Linked DNA regions of Homo sapiens: regions 1, 2 and 3 are each linked to region 4. The links are contacts of gene promoters, found by promoter capture Hi-C in blood cells and fetal thymus (Javierre and others, 2016). All regions are on one chromosome and are shown on one strand. Each heading gives the region's core, a stretch centred on a gene start or on the middle of the fragment in contact. The rest is flanking DNA. Distances are from core to core; before and after follow the strand shown.

The links. Contacts are between HindIII fragments. The CHiCAGO score rates a contact against its expected background, and 5 or more counts as called.
Region 1: the fragment with the promoter of DNAJA4-DT here is called in contact with the fragment with the promoter of CHRNA5 in region 4 in 8 of 17 cell types (fetal thymus, M1 macrophages, M2 macrophages and 5 more); the score reaches 7.0 in fetal thymus.
Region 2: a contact is called between a fragment that was not itself captured here and the fragment with the promoter of CHRNA5 in region 4, in 1 of 17 cell types (endothelial precursors). The highest score is 5.1, in endothelial precursors.
Region 3: a fragment that was not itself captured here is called in contact with the fragment with the promoter of CHRNA5 in region 4 in 3 of 17 cell types (fetal thymus, megakaryocytes and erythroblasts); the score reaches 6.6 in fetal thymus.

What each region holds. Positions count from the first base shown.
Region 1 is chr15:78,260,464-78,265,697 of GRCh38, reverse strand. It overlaps DNAJA4-DT (DNAJA4 divergent transcript), which reads left to right and starts at 1,554. Exons shown (of 4, transcript XR_001751621.1): 1 at 1,554-1,641; 2 at 1,741-1,826. DNAJA4 (DnaJ heat shock protein family (Hsp40) member A4) reads right to left here and starts at 1,136. Exons shown (of 7, transcript NM_001130182.2): 1 at 803-1,136. The coding sequence starts at 934. RefSeq lists silencers at 603-892, 1,203-1,282. The HindIII fragment of the contact is 6,233 bases long and covers 1,187-5,234 here.
Region 2 is chr15:78,277,849-78,283,269 of GRCh38, reverse strand. It overlaps DNAJA4 (DnaJ heat shock protein family (Hsp40) member A4), which reads right to left. Exons shown (of 7, transcript NM_001130182.2): 6 at 3,125-3,225; 7 at 1,079-3,025. The coding sequence ends at 2,810. SKIC8 (SKI8 subunit of superkiller complex) reads left to right here. Exons shown (of 11, transcript NM_025234.3): 11 at 1-35. It overlaps LOC105370910 (a long non-coding RNA gene), which reads left to right and starts at 4,470. Exons shown (of 2, transcript XR_932500.3): 1 at 4,470-5,062. The HindIII fragment of the contact is 2,950 bases long and covers 23-2,972 here.
Region 3 is chr15:78,144,671-78,150,081 of GRCh38, reverse strand. It overlaps IDH3A (isocitrate dehydrogenase (NAD(+)) 3 catalytic subunit alpha), which reads right to left and starts at 720. Exons shown (of 11, transcript NM_005530.3): 1 at 652-720. The coding sequence starts at 678. It overlaps LOC124903534 (a long non-coding RNA gene), which reads left to right and starts at 863. Exons shown (of 2, transcript XR_007064725.1): 1 at 863-974; 2 at 2,350-5,411. RefSeq lists a silencer at 181-760. The HindIII fragment of the contact is 1,753 bases long and covers 937-2,689 here.
Region 4 is chr15:78,564,252-78,569,968 of GRCh38, reverse strand. CHRNA5 (cholinergic receptor nicotinic alpha 5 subunit) reads right to left here and starts at 4,449. Exons shown (of 6, transcript NM_000745.4): 1 at 4,144-4,449. The coding sequence starts at 4,249. RefSeq lists a silencer at 4,162-4,251 and an enhancer at 5,062-5,251. The HindIII fragment of the contact is 1,607 bases long and covers 3,811-5,417 here.

The DNA of each region.
Region 1 (5,234 bases), core at 305-2,804, 300 kb after region 4:
TCATCCTTCAATTCACCTATTCAGGTGGGTCATGAGCCTCTTTAGAGATAAAAAGCAAACTTTCTGTAAACAGGATGGAAAAGCTTTTAACTTCTGTCTCTAAAATGCAGAGCATTTTCAGTCTATGATTGGTACTTATGATCAACTGTGTGTCACTTGTCACCGAAAACCCAGAATATGAGTACAAGCTGATGTCAGGTTGCAGATGTCCGTGTCCCTGTTTAATAAAGAAAATGGGATTATTCACTATCTGACGCTTTTATCAGGTAGGCAGTAGGTGCACAGAACAAATCCAGCTAGTCATTCTCAAGAGAGGCACGGCGTTTGTCCAAGGTACCAGCTCAGATTAAAGACACTCATCCCTAGGGTTTATGCATCAACAGAGAATATGAGCCAGTCGTTCCCAGCAAGTAAACAACTGTTTGTGTGTGCCTCAGTTTCCCGATTCCCAGGCCGCCTCTCCCACAGGGAACCAACACACCCTATGAGAACTAGTCCGGCGCGCACGGCAGGGGCTACCCAAACACTTGTGGAGCGAATGGAGGAATGAATGGGCTCGGCAGGGACTCGCGAGGGACCCAAGTGCCGCACCACATGCCTCCTCCGCGGGCGAAGCGCCCTCCACCGACCGCGCCGCACGGCGCCCAGGGTCTCCCGCCACCTCTGCCCGGCCTGGCCCCGAGGCGCCTGGCGACAGCCTCCCCAACAAACGCGGCTCAGGTTTCCCGTCGCCTTCAATGCTCCTGGCTTAATAACCCTTGGCCCCTCGGGAGCCCGGCCCGTGCCCCGCGCCGCCCCGCACCTTCTCGCCCTCATCCGGGTTCTTGTCCGGGTGGTACTTGAGCGCCAGCTTCCGATAGGCCTTCTTGATCTCCTCCGGGGACGCGCTGGGCTTCACGCCCAGGATGTCATAGTACTGGGTCTCCTTCACCATCTTGTGTCTGCGGGGGGGGCGGGCGAGGCCGGTCAGAGCGCCCCGGACGCCCCTGCCGGCACCCTGGCCCGCGCCCCTGGCCCGCGCCCCCGCCGCCCGCTCGCGCGTCACGGTCACGGTCGCCGCCGCCGCCGCCGCTTGTAGCTCCCGCCCGCCCCCCGCCCCGCGCCGGACCGACTTCCACGCCTGGCTCCACCGCACTAGAGCCACCGGCTCCTCCGCGGCGGGTTTTATTCGGCGCCGGCGGAAGCTTCCGCAAGGAGACGGTGACGCCACAAAGGCCTAGAACCTTCGCGGAGGTTCCGGCGGCCCCGCGGCGGGTTCGCGGCCCAGACCCCCGACGCCCGTCCGGCGCGGCCCAGCCGCTCACCTGGGCTTCTCGGGCGTCTGCTCCTTTGGCTGCCCGTCTGATTCCCCGGAGCTCCAGCTCTGACTGCCGCCCCGGGCCATGGCGGGGGCCGGAGAAGGCGGCTTGGGCCTGGAGGGCGCCCTCCGACAACTGTCCCGCCGCCCCGAGGCCGCCCCCTTGCCCTTCCGTGGGTCCGTGGAGCCGGCTGGCTGGAGAGTAGGCGGCCTGGAGGGCTGTGTTGGCCGGAGCCCTGCGCCGAAGGGTGGGACTGGGAGAGCTGCGCCCTGCGGTCCCCACCCGGCCTCTCCCCGGGGGTGTGGCCGCCGTCTGTTCGGTCACAGCCAGGCTGCGGCCTAAGGTGTGCCTGGGATTGTTGCATTTTTTAGGGGGTTGGAGTGGGTAGGGGCCCTCTGCTGCCTCATGACTGCAAGGCTGAGGTGAACCTCTGGCCTTCCAGTTGAGGTACAGGGGTCCTTTGCTGGCCCCAGATGTGGACAGTATCCTCTCGAATGCCCACCACTGGGAACCCTTAAGTCCCTCAAGGTGAGCAGTGACGTCCCCCACATATGGGCAGTGACGCCCCCCAAGTCTGCCAAGGGCCGACAGTGCCCTCTCTTCTCCCAGAAGTGGGAAACTGCCCCCTCTCCTCTGCACATCATCAGTGAGCAAACATCAGGGCCCGACCAGGCTGTTGGGCCCAGTGTTATGCACAGGGGGTCCCATGGCCTGGACCCTGAAACGGCTAGGTGGCCCAGGATGCTTGCCTTGGAAGGGTACAGGAGTAGGTCCCGACTTCCCTAGGCTGCCCCCAGCTCCCAACGGGTGCTCAGGGAGTCCAGATCACAAACCGTTGCAGAAAAGTGGGCGTGGAAAGCAGGCCCCAACGCTATCACAGAATTGCAGGCCCCTGTCCCCTAGCCCTCCCTTGGCTTCTGCCAGGGGAACAGTTTGTCAGAAAGGGGGGTCACTGCTCACCTCCCTGGGATGCCCTGGCCTTGTTTTGGGTACTGTGGCTGAAGCAGGTACTACCTCTCCTCCATGTGTTCCATGGGGGTGAGAAGTGACTTGTACTGTACAAGAGAAATTAAGCTGCTCTTCTTGGAGATGTTGCTTTTTTTTTTTTTAAATTATGCCTTGTAGAGCAGAACCTTTAGGCAGAGAACTCAGAGCTAGAGGTCAGAAACTTTGTTTTCTATCCAGATCTTACTGTCTGAGCCTTAGCATCTCAACACTTTTCTTCGTCAGCAGGACATGGGGATTGCCACTTGCCTGCCTTTCTCACAGGGCTCTTATAAGCATCAAATGGGATGATAACTGTGAAGACTCCTAGCGCAGTGGGTCTCAAACCTGGCTCCTGACAGAGATCACCTGGAATCTTCTAAAAATCCCTCTGGGTTGCACTCCACACCTGTTACCTTAGAGCTTCTAGGGGTGAGGCCCAGGCATCAGTGTTTTTCAAGCTCCCCAGGTGGTACAGCCAGAGCCGAGATCCACTGCCCAGGGTCACATACTTGTCCAGATTTAGTACTCGGGACCATAGGCATTCGTAAAATGGGCATGTGCAGGAGAGGGATGGCTTAAAGACAGAGCCTAGAAACATAGAATGGAGCTATGCACTTTGGACGACAGTGAATTCTGGAACCAGTGAGACTTAGACCTAGGTTCAAATCCCAGCACTGCTACTTCTGGCTGTGGAACCTTGGGCAGACAACTTAACCTTTCTGAGCCTCAGTTTTCTTAACCTTTTAATGAGGATATTAATTATAACTACTTCATAACTTTGTGAAACACCTGGTATATAGTCACAATATTGATGCTTTTTGGGGGTGGGGGGGTGCGGGCAGGGGCTAAGGTATAGAAGCTGATAGTGATTCTCTTCTTGATGGAACTTAGCCAGGCTCCTATGAGCCCTCTTCTCAACTAGGCTTCAGTCTTGGCCTATAAAGACTGAACAGACAGCAACACAGTTTCTAATAATTCAACGTCACATCCTTAAGATCACCAGTTCCCAGGCTTTTTGGCACCAGAGACCAGTTTCATGGAAGACGATTTTGTCACGGACAGGGTGGTGGGGGTGGGCAATAATTCTATGATGAAGGCCTGGCGTGGTGGCTCACACCTGTAATCCCAGCACTTTGGGACGCCGAGGTGGGCAGATCACTTGAGGCCACGAGTTCAAGACCAGTCTGGCCAACTTGGTGAAACTCCATCTCTACTAAAAATACAAAAATTAGCCAGGGATGGTGGTGCTCGCCTGTAATCCCAGCTACTCAGGAGGCTGAGGCACAAGAATCGCTTGAACCCGGGAGGCAGAGGCTGCAGTGAGCTGAGATCACACCACTGCACTCCAGCCTGGGTGACAGAGCAAGACTCTGTCTCAAAAAATAAAAAATAAATAACAATAGGATTGTCTAGTAAAATCAGATATTTTTGGCCAGGTGTGGTGGCTCAGGCCTGTAATCCCAGCACTTTGGGAGGTCGAAGTGGGCAGATCACTTGAGCTCAAGAGTTTGAGACCAGCCTGGCCAACATGGTGAAACCCCGTCTCTACTAAAAATACAAAAATTAGCCAGGTGTGGTGGCACGTGCCTGTAATCCCAGCTACTCAGGAGGCTGAAATAGGAGAATCACTTAAACCCGGGAGGCAGAGGTTGCAGTGAGCTGAGACTGTGCTACTGCATGCCAGCCTGGGCAACAGAGAAAGACTCTATCTCAAAAAAGAAAAAAAAATGGAGGATGAAACTGTTCCACCTTAGATCATCAGGCGTTAGATTCTTATAAGGAGCATGCAACCTAGATCCCCCGCATGCACAGTTCACAGCAGATTTCAAGCTCCTGTGAGAATCTAATGCCACTGCTTGGTTCCTGACAGGCCACAGACCAGTACTGGTCCGCAGCCTAGGAGTTGGGGGCCCCTACCTAAGGTGACCCTGGCCCCACTACCCCCTCTTAAAGTGCCTGCCTGAGAAAACTCAAGGCTGCCAAAATATTTACTGTGTTTTTGTTTCATCCAACACCTGAGGATAGAGCTTCTGTCTCCCAGTCTCTTTGGGAGAACGGCATCCTAACTTTGGCAATTGGCAGCTAGCAGACACAGCTGGCCTAATGTCACTTACACTGACCAACCCTTTGTCATTTTTCACTTCCCTGATTCTGTTAAACTGCTGCTTGTCCTTCTCCCTATTCCCTCATGTTCTTTTCAAAATGCCCAATTACTTTTCGTACAAATCGATATTGAGCTCAGTTCATACTAGATTGTTTTCCCTATTGCAATAGTTATGACTGATTAAATTCTGTCCTTACAATTTTAACTACTGTTCAGCTTTGTTTATCTTAGACAAAGCCTCTGACAATCTAGTAGATTATTTCCCAGAATTATGCTTGGGAGGATTGGAGGCATTACACAGACATTTCTTATTTTGTCAGTTATGTGTTTATTTTCATGATGACCTTTTCATTACTGCAACTTTTATTAAAAGTGACACTGACTTTCCACTCACAGTAAGCAATGTATGGTTTCCTTTTTATATTCTTTTAAAAAAGAGTAGATAAATAGTAAGTGTATGATAGTACCTGTAGTACAAGAATAAAGCAACAGTGGTGATACTTGAATGACAGAAATTTGGGAAATGCTGATCCAGTTCTACCATCTCATTCTACAGTTGGGGAGACTTTTAGACAAAGAAGCCACATTATACAGAACAGCCATTGTCCCTTGATGCAGTGTGGGGCTTCCTTTCTGACCCAGTGTAGAAGGAGAGTCAAAGCAAGCACGGAAGTAGGTTTTACCCAAGGAATGCTGGGATGGGGTCTTCAAGGAGTCTTCTGAGAGGGAGAAGCCACACCTACCTGGGGAGGGGGGTCAGGAAGGACTTCATGGACGAGGGACATGTGCCATAGACCAGGAAGTTAGAGCTCCCTTTAGCAGCAGGGAAAGGGAGGGCAGCCATG
Region 2 (5,421 bases), core at 248-2,747, 280 kb after region 4:
GTTCATACTTTAACATAAAGCTTTCTTAATGCAAACACTGGTGTCCTTGAACATGCTTCTTTTTTCAGTTACCCTATTACCAGTGAAACAGTGAGAGGGATTGGCATTAAGAGCAAATCTCTGCCTTAGCCATCAAGAGATCCAGGTATTTCTTTAACTTTCCAGCTTAGAAATACAGGCTGACTCTTCCAGGGAGTTGACTTATGCAGTGAGATACAGCAGCGAGCTCCCCGGAGCTGTGATAAAGAAGCTAATCTATTTTAGAATGGAGTCCTGAAGGAAAGAGTATATTTGACTGCATAGGAACATTATGTACTCCTGTCTATCTGGGCATCCTTCCACTTGATGTATTAAAGATGTCCCCTGCCAAGCCCTCCTTCCCCTTATTAATTTCAGAGAGGTCTCTAACTCGCTAGGTGGGTATCGGAAGGCAGGCTGCTATTCTTGCTGCCTTAACAATGCCTAGGCTGAAGCCTGTGCCTCATGCTGTAGAACTGTAGCCCTGCCTTAGTTATTTCAGAGTATCTGTACCTCAGAGTTTCCTCTTCATCAGCCCCCTTGAGACTCATGTTAATGAGAAAGATGTAAGTAGCTGAACACTTGGAAGCGTGTTTTTTATTGATCATTACTTCATATGCTTATGAGTCAGGTCATGTGCTTTTCCTCAAACCACTCACTGCCCTCAGAATAAAGCTCACACTCTTTATCATAGCCCCCCACTTCTCCCTCCTGCTTGCCTTGCTCACCCTCCTGTAACCACATCATCCTTGCCATTCCTCTGCCTGGAATGTTTTCCCTCCAGACCTTCGGACATCTGCTCCCCAGCTGCATCCAGGATTCTGCCCAGATGCCAGCTCCTGGTAGAGGCCTTCTTCCCATTCCCTTCTACTCATTCCCATTCCTCTTGTTCTTCATAGCAGTTACCACTTTTTGTTTGCATTCACCCCCACCCCCAAAATAAAGCTCCATGAGGGTGGAAACTTCATTCCATTATGTCAACCAATGAGAGGCAAGCTGGCAGGCACCTAACACTGTTTATGTGAGCTCTCAAAAAAAGGAAAAAGCAAAGCCACTTATCTCTCATACCAGCTCAATTTTAATTTTAAAGTGACAAATGTACAGGTGGAATAAAATTTTAAGCGACACCCTCCAAATTCCTTTTATATGACAAGAAGGAGCTGAATGTAATTTTACACCATTACCAACTAAACAGTAGTTCTTTAGCAATAATTAGGAAGTCACAGCACAAAAACGACACCCCAGAGTTGTGGTCCATTTATAAATAGATTTTCACCTAGGCTTCGTTGGAAGAAGTGATTTTATATCTATCCTCACCAATGGTCAAAGTGGGCACAGGTGGGCTGTTTCTATACTTTGAGCAAATTATGCCTCACTAGCTGGCAATGTTTTGCGGGAACCTGGTCCGTGCAGCTGGTTCACCTTACCTGCATGGTCTGATCTGCACTTTGACCCTCCTAAGGAAGATCCCTGGTCTGAGTGAAACTCTCAGGTGCCATGTAACCAAATAAGGGTAGGGTAGATCTGACAGGTGGCCTCTGCTTTAACCCAGCAGCTTACAAGTTTTTTGTGACTTGGGGAAAAGAAATAAGCAGTAATGGCTAAAGACTGAGGTAACCCTAAGTTCGAATTGTAGTCTACCTGTCATGAATAAAATAATGACTAATATCCCTCCAAACAAGCTATAATTTACAGTAGTAGTCCATACAAACTGTAATCCACAGTGGAACTCAGCGAAGTTCTTACCAAAACATCACTTGAGCAGGAAACCCTTTGTAATATGGCTGTGCAATGAGAGGAACGATCCTTTGGAAGGGAGCTCAATCTGGGAGAATGAGGTGGAAAACACTGGGGAGTTCTATGCCTTTGCAGACCCTCAAGTCACCCCGGATTACTGGTCAGAGAAGCTGGCTGTGCCATGGGCCAAACCAGCAGCATTCTCCCTTGGCTTCTGTTGCTGCACTGAGGCTGCCGGGGACACAGAAGGATTTAGTTTTCTTTACAAGTAAGCACTTTGGTGGGAAAGCATTGCAAAAGTTGTCAACAGAAAATCATTAAAACCCTGAAGAACAAGGTGTGAGGGTCACAGGCAAACAGTTATCAGCATATGATTCAAACACTGGTTTGTCCTCACCACAGAGCTTGGAAGGTTCAGAAAACTTCCAAGAGAGATGATCAGACACTCACGTTCCATCCACTGAAGGGCACAGAACAGTAGGAACTAAGTTGGCCCTGTTAAGCAGGCACATGCAGCCATGTCCGATCCACGGATGTGCTTTTATTCTTTAAGAGGATCATCTAGAATCCTCAGAAATGTTATCTTAGCAGCCCTGAGATCATGCCCTCAATAACTCTGCCAAGGGAAGAGGGGAGAAACCACAGACCTAGAGATGAGTCAGGATGCCCACTTTGTGCCTTGGGGTTTGCTAGGGGGGCTAAGCTGCTAACTGGGCTGTGCCTTATTGGTGACACTGAATTATGGCAAAGCCACTAGAAGCACAAAGTATTGGTGCAATCACTGACATCTCAAAAGTATATCCTGAAAATAGAAATGAACAGATTCCATATGCAGACTAGAGGTGATTTATACTTAAAACATTTAAATATAAATTAAGCTATAACTTAAGTTACAACCAAAAGAAAAGCCAAAAAGACACTCAGCAATTAAGAATGCTGAACACATACACAGGACATCCCAAACACAAGGCCATTAAAGCGATGTCATTTTCATTGTGCCAACTTTACATTCATCATGTGCTAGTCCGGTGGGGCCACGCTGCCCCGCACCACGTCATGCCGTCTGGCACTGCACTCCAGCCTGGGGCCCGTCTTCGTCCTCCTCGTAGGCCTCCCTGTGCTGACGCCAGTTCTGCTCATTGGGACAAAACTCCTTCAGCTCCACCTGATCCATGTCATCTGTAATCCTCACTTTCTGTCGAGGAGGGAGTAAAGCTTCCAGCTGAGGAAGCTTTTCCAGAGAAAGCCAGTGTTTTTCAGGAAAGATTACCTGTAAAGGGTGAGGTGGGAAAGAAAGGTGGCTGTTTTTTCCCCTTCCAATTAAGGCATTTAATAATATGTCCATGACAATGAAACATAGTGAACTTACTAAAAACTGTATGATCAGAATCCCTTTTTCCAGGGGTGCTTTGTAGATGGGCATTCCTTCATCGCGCACGCATCTCAGGTCCCCGTGCTTTATCACCTCACCTGCCAGAGAAAGGGTCAATTAGGAAGGAGGAAGGCAGAGGGGCCTGCAGAGGTCGTTCTCCCTCATGGGAGAGCCTGCGGCAGGCCCTAGTGCCCCGTGGCAGTGGGCAAAGGAAACGTGGCATCTGACTGGAAAGCTGGCCCCAATCCCAGGTATCCTTGTCAGGTACTGCCTGGGGAAGGGGCTCAGGCTGAGACTCTGGCCTGTGCTCTGGGCTCCAGCAGTGTGTCAAGAGGGCAGCATGGTGCAGCTGCCATCACAGGTAGGTTTAAAACAAGTGAACTAGAAGTCATGACACCCAAGTCTGCCTAAAATGGGGCCAACACCTGTCACCCTGCCTCTTTGTGGGGTGACAGGTATCCCTACCACGAGGGGGACAGGAGTGCTCCCCACAGACAGGAAGAAGCCTCAATAGAGTCCAACCAGTCCCCTGCCTGGCATAAAAACTGGCTCTTGGCCACCTGCAGGTGACACCCAGGTTCCTTGGTAGGGAGCTCACTAGGTGGCTTGGCCACTGGCAGACTCCTTCATGGTCACAATGCACTTCCATACATGCTGCTGAGCTGGAGTCACCCTCCCGGCTGGCACCCGCTGGGTCTTACAGCTACGTGACTTTGGAAGGCATCAGAGGAGTTCAGACCCCAAGAACTCTAAGGCGTTCTCCCAAGTCAGAAACTTCCCTCTAAGCATGGAAAAGGAAAGGGACAAAAGGGTTTCTGATAAAGCATGCTCTTCAGCTCAGCGATGAAAATGGACAAAGACAGAAAGAAATGTTCGGAAAAAATGGGGGAGACGGTGGAGGGGAATGGAAACACTAATTTCTTCAGCAGTCCACTTCCATACGGGACTATGTAGAAAGTGAGCTGTCTCTTCAAGAGGAAATCTTTAAAGAGGAGGTTTTAAAAATAAAGTAAGCCAATGACTATCCTTGAGATTCATTCGCAGGCAGGGCTGTGGTTCAGACATGGCCTTCAGAGCCTACTGACTGTGCAGGACAGCAACCCCTTAGCTAAACTGCTCCAGGCTGCTGGCTTTTTGTGTTCCTGTTTATTCTTTTTTTTTGAAATACAGTCATGGCCAGGCACGGTGGCTCACGCCTGTAATCCCAGCACTTTGGGAGGCCGAGGCGGGCGGATCACGAGGTCAGGAGTTCGAGACCAGGTTGATCAACATAGTGAAACCCCGTCTCTACTAAAAAAAAAAAAAAAAAAAAAAAATAGAAAAACTAGCCAGGAATGGTGGTGTGTGCCTGTAATCCCAGCTACTTGGGAGGCTGAGGCAGGAGAATGGCGTGAACCCGGGAAGCAGAGTGTACAGTGAGCCAAGATCACGCCATTGCACTCCAGCCTGGGCGACAGAGCGAGACTCCGTCTCAAAAAAAAAAGAAATACAGTCATGCACAGCATAGTGACCTTTCAGTCAACAACATTTATGAAGATGGTTGCAAAGATTACACCAAACTTTTACTGCACCTTTCCTATGTTCAGATACTCACATACTCAGCATCGTACTACAACTGCCCACAGTATTCAGTACAGCAACCTGCTGTGCAGGTTTTAGCCCAGGAGCAACAGGCTATGCCACACAGCCTAGGGTGTAGCAGGCTATGCTATCTAGGTCTGTGTGAGTACATTCTATGGTGTTCACACCACAACGACATCGCCAAACAATGCATCTCTCAGAACATATCCCCTTCGTTAAGTTACATATGACTGGTTTTTCTGTCTCCCCATTCCTATCAGGTGTCGCTTCTTGCTGCTCTCAAGCCCTACTCCCCATGCTTCTGCTTCTAGCTTGCTGGGAGCTGGGAAACTGACCAAGCATGGAAAACTACAGGTAAGAGAAGAAGACCACGAGTTAGGCTCTCCCGGCAGGTAAATACCTGCCTGCAGGCAGGGCCATCACACCCTTGTGTGGCTCCAAAATCACTTTTTTAATTAATCCAATCCTCAGCAATGCTCATAACAGGCTAAAAGGCTCTGGGGAAGAAGGCATTTCAACAGCAGAAAAGAGGAAGAAGAGGGAGAAGAGAAAATGGAGAAACAAGAAATAAGCCAACACAAAAGAGGGGTGAAGAAAAGAGAGGGTGCAAAAGAGAACAAAGTAAAAACAAAAACAAAACAAAAAGGACAAACAAATCCCCAAAGAACTCTCCAACGGCAGGTTTCCTGGATGCTCCACCCTTCCTTATAATA
Region 3 (5,411 bases), core at 564-3,063, 420 kb after region 4:
GGTTCAGACGGTAATTCCGAGGTGTAAGATGCCCTATCCTATGAAGGGGAAATAGCTACAAGAGCACTAGAGGTCTGACTGGGAAGAGCGCCAAAGGGAAAACAATCTGATAGGGAAAAGGGCCCCCGGATTCTCTCACCTGGGAAAACCTCCCAAGCTCAACGCCAGTGCCCGTGGCACCTGCGGTTCCCCGGCCAAGGGCCGCGCAGACAGCGGATGAGAGGTGTGGGCAGTGCTGAGGGGATCAGTCCCGCAGCAGGGCCGCAGCCGGGGAAGCGGCCCGGATGGCGGAGCCGGGACAGAGGCTCCCGTGACCTTCCCGGGCTCGGCGCGAAGCCTGGGCTCTGGCCTGGGCGGATGCGGGTGACGGCAGCCGGGTCTCGGCAGGAGCAGGGCCGGCGCCCCCCCGCCTTGACCTTGACGCCGTCCCCGCCTCTGCGCTGCTGACCCGGCCCGGGGCGGCCCATACACTGCGAGCCGGCCACGGAGCGCGGGGCACGGGCGACCAGGACCGGCTCCCAAGCTGTCCCCGCGGGCAGCCACCGCCTCCCTGTCTGGCCCACGCGCCCGCCCACACCCGGCACGCGACCGGCTCTCCTGCCAGCCCTCGCGGCCTGCCTGCCTGCCACACGCCGGCCTGCCAGCGCTCACCTTAGAGATCCACGCGGGCCCAGCCATCGCTTCCCCTCCTGGCTCCGCAGCAACAGCCGCAGCGGCAGTGCGCAAGCGCCCACCCCACGCTCGGAGCCCGCCCCTGCACGGCCACGCCCCCTGAACGCCCCGCCCCCTAGACCGCCTCAGGATTGCTTCGCGCTCGCTCGCTGCCCCGCCCCTGGACATTCCGCTGGCGAATCGCCGGGCTCGTCTCTCTGTGACTGGCCTGGCTGAGCGCCAGGCGAACCCGGAAACTGAGGGGCCGGCATCTCCGGGAAAGCTTCTTCCTCCCCTCCCTGGTTCATTGACTCGCTGTTAAGGTAAGACGTTTGTTCCACACCTACTAGGTGCTGATTAATGTTCTAGGATCTTGGGGATATAGCGCTCCTCATAGAATTTACAATCCCGTGGAGAAAGACACATAATTTTCTTATTCCACAAATTTTGATTTTTTTTTTTTTTTTGAGACCGGGTCTCACTCTGTCGCCCAGGCTGGAGTGCAGTAGCGCGAACAGGTTCACTACAAAGCCTCGACCTCCTGGGATCAAGTAATTACTAAGCCCAGCCCAACTTTGTTTTTTCTTTTCTTTTTCTTTTTTTTTTTTTTTTTTTTTCTCCGTAGAGATGGGGCCTCGCTATGTTGCTCAGGCTGGTCTGGAACTCCAGAGTTCAAGCGATCTGCTTGCCCCAGGCTCACAAAGTGAGCCACTGCGACTGGCCGAATTTTATTTTTTACCAGCTTTATTGAGGTATAATGTATATATAGTAACATTTACTCACTGTAAGTGTACAGTTTGATGATTTTTAGTAAATGTAAACAGTTGCACAACCATCACCACAATCCAGTTTTTGAGCATATGAAAATGTTCCTTGTGTCCGTTTATAGTCAATCCCGCTCCTGTCCTCAATCCCAGGCAACTACTAATCTGTCTATTTAGCTCAACAAATATTTCTGAGGGTCAACTAGACACCAGGCACTGTTTTAAGTGCTGGGGCTTAGTGTCCAGTAGGAAAGACAGGCTTCAATCAAGTGTCACACACATGTCATTAAAACTGTTGCGCCAAGAAGCAAAAGAGCAAGGAGCTATGGCAAGGCAAAATCAGGCAACCTGATTCAAACCTAACCTGGAGGTCAGGGAATGCTTCTCTGAAGAAATAACATCCATACTCACCTTTCCCCTTGTCCTCTCCCTGTCCATCACAAACTCCTGAGTTCCTGCTGATGGCCAGGCCTCTAGCTGGGTGCCAGGGGAGGTCAGGTGTTTAAACCAGGTCTCTGCTACCCTACCCTGGGAAGAGTTCTATCCAGAGAGGAGCTGCCTACCCACCCAGAGAGGTGATGAGTGCAGTAGAGAAGTGATCCCAAGAGCTTTTATGACCTAAATAATAAACTGCAGCTAAGTCTGTGGCCTTGTCAGGAAGGAGGGCTTTTATCAACCCCTTTCCATTGGGCCCCTTCCCCTCATCAGGCCCTGGCAGTCCCATCCTGAAGTGTTCTCCCACAGTTCCTCCATCCCCAATGTCACCCCTGCCCTCCTTCGGGCCAGACCACCTCAGGCCCAGGCTCTTACAACAGCCTCTTCACCTGCCAACCTGCCCTCCCCTTCAGGCACAGCTCTGACCAGGGCTCGCCCCGGCTCTGAAACCTCCTGGCTCTCCCTTGCACTCTCCTCTCACACCACTGTCTTTTTTCAGCCTGATTTCCCACCACTCCTTCCAGCCCCAAAGACCTGGAGCGCCTGCCAACTAGGACTGCTGGCCAGCCCCCAAATGCTTCCCATATTTTACCTCTCCGTGCCTATGGTCGTGCCATTCCCTCAGCCTCAATGCCCTCTTGCCCCACTTCTACTGGCTGAAATTCTAGCTCCTTGTCAAGACTCAGCTTACATGTTGGGAAGTAGTAAAAGTTGTAAAAGCCCCCAAGACCCACGAATGTGTCCCCCTCTCCTTACTCAGAGCCCTCTAGCACTTGGCTCCCACCTCTCCTGGGAAACATCACATTCTCTTCTGCTGTGTGCCATTGAGAAGATAAGCTTTGGGCCAGGCGTGGTGACTCACGCCTGTAATCCCAACACTTTGGGTGGCCGACGCAGGTGGATCACTTGAAGTCAGGAGTTGGAGACCAGCCTGGCCAACATGGCAAAACCCTGTCTCTACTAAAAATACAAAAATTAGTTGGGCGTGTTGGCACATGCCTATAATCCCAGTGACTCAGGAGACTGAGGCATCAGAATCGCTTGAACCCACGAGGCAGAGGTTGCAGTGAGCCGAGATCATGCCACTGCACTCCAGTCTGGGTGACAGAGCGAGACTCTGTCTCAAAAGAGATAGAGAGAAGATATGCCTTAAGTCCAGAGATAATCTTGATGATCTCTTATGACGTTGTTTCTGGAACAGAGACTGGTACACAAGGAATACTTGCTGCTCAGTGATTGTGAAATAAACATTGACTGACTTTGTCCAGTCTTCATTTAATCTTCACAACAACCCTATGAGAAAACTGAAGTACAGCTAGTAAGTGATGATGCTGGCATTCACACTAGGAAGCTTCCTAAGTACTAAGGCAGTTCTCCTAACTGCTGAACTTTCGCTGAGGGCCAGTCCAATCCTACAAAGGCTTCCCAAGCCATTCTCTAGCAAGTGCACTGTGAGAACAAAAAATGAACAAGACCCACTCCTACCCTCCAGATCTAGTGAGGGAGAAACTCAGAAGTCTCAGATGGAAGTTGGGGGGTGATCAAGGAAGATTGCACAATGGAGATGGCATTTGAATCAGTCCTTGAAGAGGTAAAATGTCAGCAGCTGGAGGGACATGCAGGAAACAGAAATGACCTCACCTTGAGCTGAGATCTGTTCCCTGAGTCAGCCCTTGGCTCCAGAAGCCCCAGTCACCATTCCTCGAACATGTTCTAGAGTTCCTCCAAGATGCAGGTCACTCTCCTCTGGAAAAGCCCTTTTTCCTTGTCCCTTGCACTGTGTAGTGCCCAGAGATACCATCAGCAAAGTATGTTTGGACAAGACGGTGGGAAAACTTTGCCACTCAGGAGAAGAATCTAGAAAGTGCACCCTTATCTGTAATAACAAGCACTATCCAATCCAGGTGTGCTTCACTCTAAGGAAAAAAAAAAAGATTTTAAAATCAAGAGGCCAGGTGCGGTGGCTCACTCCTGTAATCGCAGCACTTTGGGAGGCAGAGGTGGGTGGATCGCCTGAGGTCAGGAGTTTGAGACCAGCCTGGCCAATATGGTGAAACCCCATCTCTCCTAAAAGTAACAAAAATTAGCCAGGGGTGGTGGTGTGCATCTGTAGTCCCAGCTACTCAGGACGCTGAGGCAGGAGAATCACTTGAACCTGGGAGGCGGAGATTGCAGTGATCCAAGATCGCACCACTGCACTCCAACCTGGGTGACAGAGCGAGACTCTGTGTCAAATAAATAAATAATAAAATCAAGATAGCAATTTTTAAGTGAATAAATCAGCAAAACAGAATATACATTATTCACATACCAAATGTTTATTTTTTGTTACAAAAGAAATTCATTTCAACAGTTTTCCTACTTTATTTAAAATATTATTTTCATTAAAGATATGATTGGCAAAGGGTTCATCCCTATCTCTAAGTTAGGAAAAGATCCAACAAATTGGTAAAGAAGGTATTAGGACTTTAGTAAATAAATGGGAAAAGGGGACTGGGCGCGGTGGCTCACGCCTGTAATCCCAGCACTTTGGGAGGCAGAGGTGGGTGGATCACGAGGTCCGGAGTTCAAGACCAGCCTGGCCAAGATGGTGAAAGCCTGTCTCTACTAAAAATACAAAAAATTAGCTGGGCGTGGTGGCGGGTACCTGTAATCCCAGCTACAAAGGAGGCTGAGGCAGAGAACTGCTTGAACCTGGGAGGCCGAGGTTGCAGTGAGCCGAGATCGTGCCACTGCACTCCAGCCTGGGCGACAGAGTAAGACTCTGTCTCAAACAAAACAAAACAAAAAACATAGGCCGGGCATGGTGGCTCATTCCTGTAATCCCAGCACTTTTGGAGGCCGAGGCGGGCAGATCACAAGGTCAGGAGGTCAAGACCAGCCTGGTTAACATAGTAAAACCCCCTCTCTACTAAAAATACAAAACTTAGGGAGGCATGGTGGTGCACACCTGTAGTCCCAGCTACTGGGGAGGCTGAGGCAGGAGAATCACTTGAACCTGGGAGGTGGAAGTTGCAGTGAGGCGAGATCACACCACTGCACTCCAGCCTGGGTGACTGAGTAAGACTCCGTCTCGGGAAAAAAAAAAACAAAACAAAACGGGAAAAGGACCTGAATAATCAATTCACAGCCAAATAAACTTTTAAATAAATGTTCAATCTTAACAATAGTCAAATGCATGCAAATTTCTAAAAAAAATTATTTTTATTTAAAAATATTAATAAAATGCAATGCCTTATACCATCCAATTTATGGCGCACTGCTTGGCTGGCCTTATACATTTCCACAATCTCTTTGGAAAACAGTTTAGCAATGTGTCTTAAGAGAGACATTAACTGTTCTTACTCTTTCACCTAGTAAATCCATTCCTGAGAATTAAACTCTTGGGGAAAAAAATCCAGAAAGAAAAAGCCATCAACACAAAGATATTCATTATACAATTATCCTTAATTTTGAAAACTAAAAAGAGAAAAAAGCAGTCTAAATGATTAACAGAAGAAATGGTTATGTAATTTAGGGGAAATGAATGAAGTGGACCATCATGCAGCCTTCAAAAGTGAT
Region 4 (5,717 bases), core at 3,200-5,699:
ACATGCCTGTAATCCCAGCTACTTGGGAGGCTGAGGCAGGAGAATCACTTGAACCCAGAGGCAGAGGCTGCAGTGAGACAAGATCATGCCACTGCACTCCAGCCTGGGCGACAGAGTGAGACTCTGTCTCAAGAAAAAAAACAAAAACAAAAACAAAAAAAACACTATACCCATGCTGTTCTGTGGAACAGATGTTTAAAGAAACAAATTCTAAACTTCTTTCAAAAACAATTCCAGGCCGGGCACGGTGGCTCACACCTGTAATCCCAGCACTTTGGGACGCCGAGGCGGGCGGGTCATGAGGTCAGGAGATCGAGACCATCCTGGCTAACATGGTGAAACCCCGTCTCTACTAAAAATACAAAAAATTAGCCAGGCGTGGTGGCGGGTGCCTGTAGTCCCAGCTACTTGGGAGGCTGAGGCAGGAGAACGGCGTGAACCCGGGAGGCAGAGCTTGCAGTGAGCCGAGATTGCACCACTGCACTCCAACCTGGGCAACAGTGCAAGACTCCGTCTCAAAAAAAAAAAAAAAAAAATTCCAATATTTAACAACTCTAATTGTCGACATGCTTATTTAATAGTGAACTTAAACTATCATCTGATAATTTAATTCCAATGCTTTAAGAAAAATAATGCTATTAGAAGAAAAAGTTCTGTACTGAAATTACTGAACTAAAACTTCATATCCTAATTATAAAAAATTACTTGCTAGATCTCATTTGTAGATTATAGGTTGAAAAAAAGCTCAGAGTTCAATCCATAGGCTACATTAATAAATGCAGGTATATCTGCAGTGTATCAGGAAATACACAGACAAATGAAATCCTACCCTCCAGCTGCTCAGTCTAGTTCACATATTTAGTATTTCTTGGAAATCAAAATAATTTTAAATTGCAAATTAAATTGTGTATAAAGTTTACGTAAGGACATATATATAACAAAAGTAAAACTGACAGTCAGTATGTGTGTATTTCTGTTAGCTTCTGAAAATGTTAATGAAAATGACTAAAGATGAGAAGAAAAAAATCTTTCATAGCTCTCATTTTCTATGAATTATTTCATTTTCCTATTTCATTTTCAGCCACTACATATAGTAATTAAAATTAAGGTTCAGCCATTTAAAATGTCACATAGCGTGCAGCCATAAAAAAGAATGAGTTCATGTCCTTTGCAGGGACATGGATGAAGCTGGAAACCATCATGCTCAGCAAACTAACACAGGAACAGACACCAAACACCGCATGTTCTCTTTCATAAGTGGGAGTTGAACAATGAGAATCCATGGACACAGGGAGGGGAACATCACACATCAGGGTCTGTCGGGAGGTTGGGGGCAAGGGGAGGGAGAGCATTAGGACAAATACCTAATGCATGTGGGGCTTAAAACCTAGATGACAGGTTGATAGGTGTAGCAAACCACCATGGCACATGTATACCTATGTAACAAACCTGCAGGTTCTGCACATGTATCCCAGAACTTAAAGTAATATTTTAAAAAAAAAATTAAAAAAATAAAATGTCACACAGCTAAGAAATATAACCATTGGCTTTAAAATGTCACATAGCTAAGAAATAGTAAGAAATATAACTAGTTAGGTAGTTAATGACTATCTAACTTCCATAATCACTGTCCCAATCACAGGTCAGTTTAAAATGCTTGTATTATCTTGATGTACTAGTTCATTATACTTTAATATATTATACTTTAATTGTCTCCTGAGCCACTTTCCACAGCTCTGTGACCGTTCATCAGCCAAATAATAGCTGCGGGCTGACTAGATATTCTCTTTACCTGGGAACTGGCTCACAGAAAACCACAGGGAAAAGTTACTATTAAGAACCTAAGACGAATATGAAAACAATAAATTGTAAAAATAAAGGTAATTATATTTGAACTTAAAAAACTTAAAGTTGACTTAAAAACATCTACTACCGCCCTTTCATTTTAAAGAGAGAGAAACAAAGAATCAGCAAGGTCAAGTAATACGTCCAAGGAAACACAGACAGCGAGTGGCAGGTCTCCTATTTCCAGACAGTACTTTCAGCCACCCACATGGAACGACAGTTGTACACAAATGCATATTAACAGTTAAGAGCAAGTGTGCAATTACATCATCCATTCAGTATCACTTTGTTCTTCAAGATGATCACTTCTAAGAGCACACAGAATCTTATAATTTTCAAGGTGGAAGGGGGATCCTTTAATGGCCCCTCACCATCCAGATGGAGAAACTAATATCCAGAGAGGTAATACTGTTCCACTCCTTCCTTCCGCAAACCTTCACTGGGCTCCTACATTAAGGCAGGTGTTGGCGATACAAAGATAAACAAGAATCACAGTTCTTAAGGAGCTTACGTGGAAGCAGGAGGAAACAGAAGTGCAATAGAACCAGATGGTTATTATGAGAGAGATATTAACTAAGTGGGGCAGAAAGCAGGAACTAATCGATTTCACTTTGTTATAACACTGAACACCATGCATGAAGGGAGATAGCTATTTACACTATTTAATGCTTGGCTACAGTGTTCTATATTAAAAGACATGAAACAGATTTTTAAAGTTCAGTTTCATCAAAAGGGGTAGAGAACTACCATTTTCTCGAGTGTCAGGCACTGTGCCTGGCATTTTATATGCATTATTTAATCCTCAAAAGAACTCTGAGAGGTAAGCATGATTATTACCCCCATTTCTTTTCTTTTCTTTTTTTTTTTTTTTGAGACGGAGTCTCGCTGTGTTGCCCAGGCTGGAGTGCAGTGGCGCGATCTCGGCTCACTGTAACCTCCGCCTCTCGGGTTCACGTCATTCTCCTGCCTCAGCCTCCCGAGTAGCTGGGACTACAGGCGCGCACCACCACGCCCGGCTAATTTTTTTGTATTTTTAGTAGAGACGGGGTTTCACTGTGTTAGCCAGGATGGTCTCGATCTCCTGACCTCGTGATCTGCCCGCCTCGGCCTCCCAAAGTGCTGGGATTACAGGCGTGAGCCACCGCGCCCGGCCCGCCATTTCTTAAAGAAGGAAAACAGCTGAGAGAAGTTCGTCCAGTCAGGATGCACCAGAGCCATAATTTGAATACAGGTTTGCCTGGCTCCAAAATCACATTCCTTTCTTTCTGTTTAACTCTCTCTGCCCAGGATTTTCTTCATTTGTTTAAATCACCCTCCATCTTATTTCTCTTCGGTCTACACTAAGCAATACATCCTGCAATGAATTATTCTAGTCTTATTACTTCCTAAAATCAGGAGCCATAGATTAAAAACCTTAACAAAGGAAAGGCAAGAAAAGGTTCTTGCAATATTTCCACTATTTAAGAAACTCACTCATAAAACCTGAAATACAGACGTAGTGAACTTCTGTAATCATATCTTGCTTAACGGATGCTTAGCTTTTCTACGTTTAGATCACACCATAGCTGCTCCACAAACGTGTTTTTCTTCAAGGTATTGAGAGAACTGACTCTAAAACTTTCCCAAGCACTTGAAACATGTAGGACTACGCGATTTCTTTTGTTGTTTCCATTCCTGTCCAAAACCTCTTGAAAAACAGCAGGCTGAAAAAAGCTGTGCTCTAAGGAGCTAGTGAGGAACTCTGGATGCAAACGATTAGCCCCGAAGCCAGGGAAGTTGGCCGCCTAGCCTGCTACAACACACACCTTTCATCTCCGGCGAAAGGAAAGGTTTTCAAATGCTGCGGTGGGTAGGGGACAGGGATGGAGGAAGAGGCGGCGGGCAGGAGGTGGAAGATAAGTCCCAACCCCTAGAATGAACCCCAGAGTCTCTATATCCCGTAAATGGGCAACAAAATGGGAAGCTTGGCTGCCACCAGGACAGGAAAGCCCTGCTGGACAAGAGTGGCATCTTTTACTGAAAAAGTTGTGTGGAAGTATACGCTAAGCCAGCCTCGTAGTCTCCAGCGATGCAGGTCGTGGAACAACAAAGAAAACCCACCCAAGTAGCCCTTTCTCTGCATTTAAATGAGCAAATCTGGACATTTAAACTGAAACCTCACTCCAAGCCCCCAGGAGAAAAAAACCCACCTCCCCTCGCAACCAGGTTTTCCGGCGGCCGTCGCCTGGCGGCTTCCTGGGCACCGCGATGTGGAGTCCGGGCCAGCTCCCGCCCCGCCCCTCTGCAGCCCGGGCTTACCTCTCTGCGCGCCGCCCGCCGCGCCCGCTAGACCGCAGCGCCCCGCGACCAGCTGGACCAAGAGCAGCAGGCGGAGCGCGCGGGGCCCTGACCCCCGCGCCGCCATCGCCCCGCGCCCGCGCGGGACCGCGGGCAGCCGCCTCTCGACCGCCGCGCGGGGAACGCGAACTCTTGGGGAATGGAGCACTGAGTGTGAGTCGTGAGACAAAACGAGGGCAGACGCAGCAGAGGGGCCGCTCCGCGCCACAGCTCCCGCCGGGACAGCAGCCTCAGCCTAGCAGCTTCTGGCGGGCTCGGGACGCATGTGGAAGCTCCCGGCGCCTAGCCCCGCCCCTATTTCCCTCTGGCCCCGCCCAATCCTCGCCTTGTTCCTTTTGGCCCAGTCCGGTCTATTCATAGCCCCGCCTCCGATCCCCACCAACCCTTTCCCCACCCCGCCCCGCCTCTGGTCCAACCCTGTCTGCTCCTAGCTCCTCTTTTTCCACGCCTGGCCCAGCCCCATCGCCCTGGCCCCCGCCTCCAGGCCTTCCTTTGGGCAGGTGCGACCCTGGAGCAGAGTTCCAGGAAGGCAAAGACTTGAGGCTGGCATCGCAGGCGCGTCCTTCTCTAACCACCGGATGTCCTTGGCCTAGTCACTGCACACCTTAAGATAACAGCTATTCATTGATGTCTGCTCTGTGCTCAGCACCAAAAGGGGAAGCAGAGGGACAGATTGCTCCCAGCTGATAGAAAATGTAAATAAAGTAATTCCGAGTTGTGATCAGAAAGAAACAAGCTGGAGGCTGGGGCAGAATCACAGTGGTGGGGGACTTGCTCCAGGCTGCAGCGCTCTCCATGGGCCCCGCTGCCCACTCAAGTCTTTCTCACCAGGAAGTACCAGTCGCAGCTTGACTGCCTCCTGGGGCTGTCGTGTCAGCCAAGGGGTCCCCACCAGGAGACCTGTGTTGTGGACCAGCGAGACAACCCTGGGCAAGTCACTTTCCTCTCTGGGCCTGTTTCCTCGTCTGGAAGCGAGGAACCGAGGCAGATAAACTAGAGGACTCGGGAAGGTACAGCTCTGACACTCACTCAAGCCATCCCCGGAAATGATATGCAGTCGCCTCAAACGTGGGCATCGCCCTCCGTGTTGTCATCAATTAACATTTGTAAATATTAGTGACTATCTGCTACAGACACTTAGCACCTCTGGTGGAGATTGGTGCCGACTGCTGGAAACCCGTCTCAAATCCCTCCAGACCCTATATTTCATCCTCTCTGTCCATAATTAGAAAGCTTCATTTGGCTGAAGGGATTCAGGCGAATTATCTTTAAACTTCAGTGGCAGAGGGAGCCGCTGACTCTTCACAGAACGCTTTATGGAGGTGACACCTCTAAGACTCATTGTGAGCAAAAATTTCACTCCACCCTCCAGACTAGTAAATCTGTGAAAAACTAAACCTGGTTGCAAAGAATCTAAACAGCAAAATTCAGTGAAGATGCTCTTCTTAGGTCCAAATACAGCTGGAAAAATGTAAATTACATCCAATGGAGCCAATCTGTTTAAACAGGACTTAAACAAAGGGGCCACAGAAAAG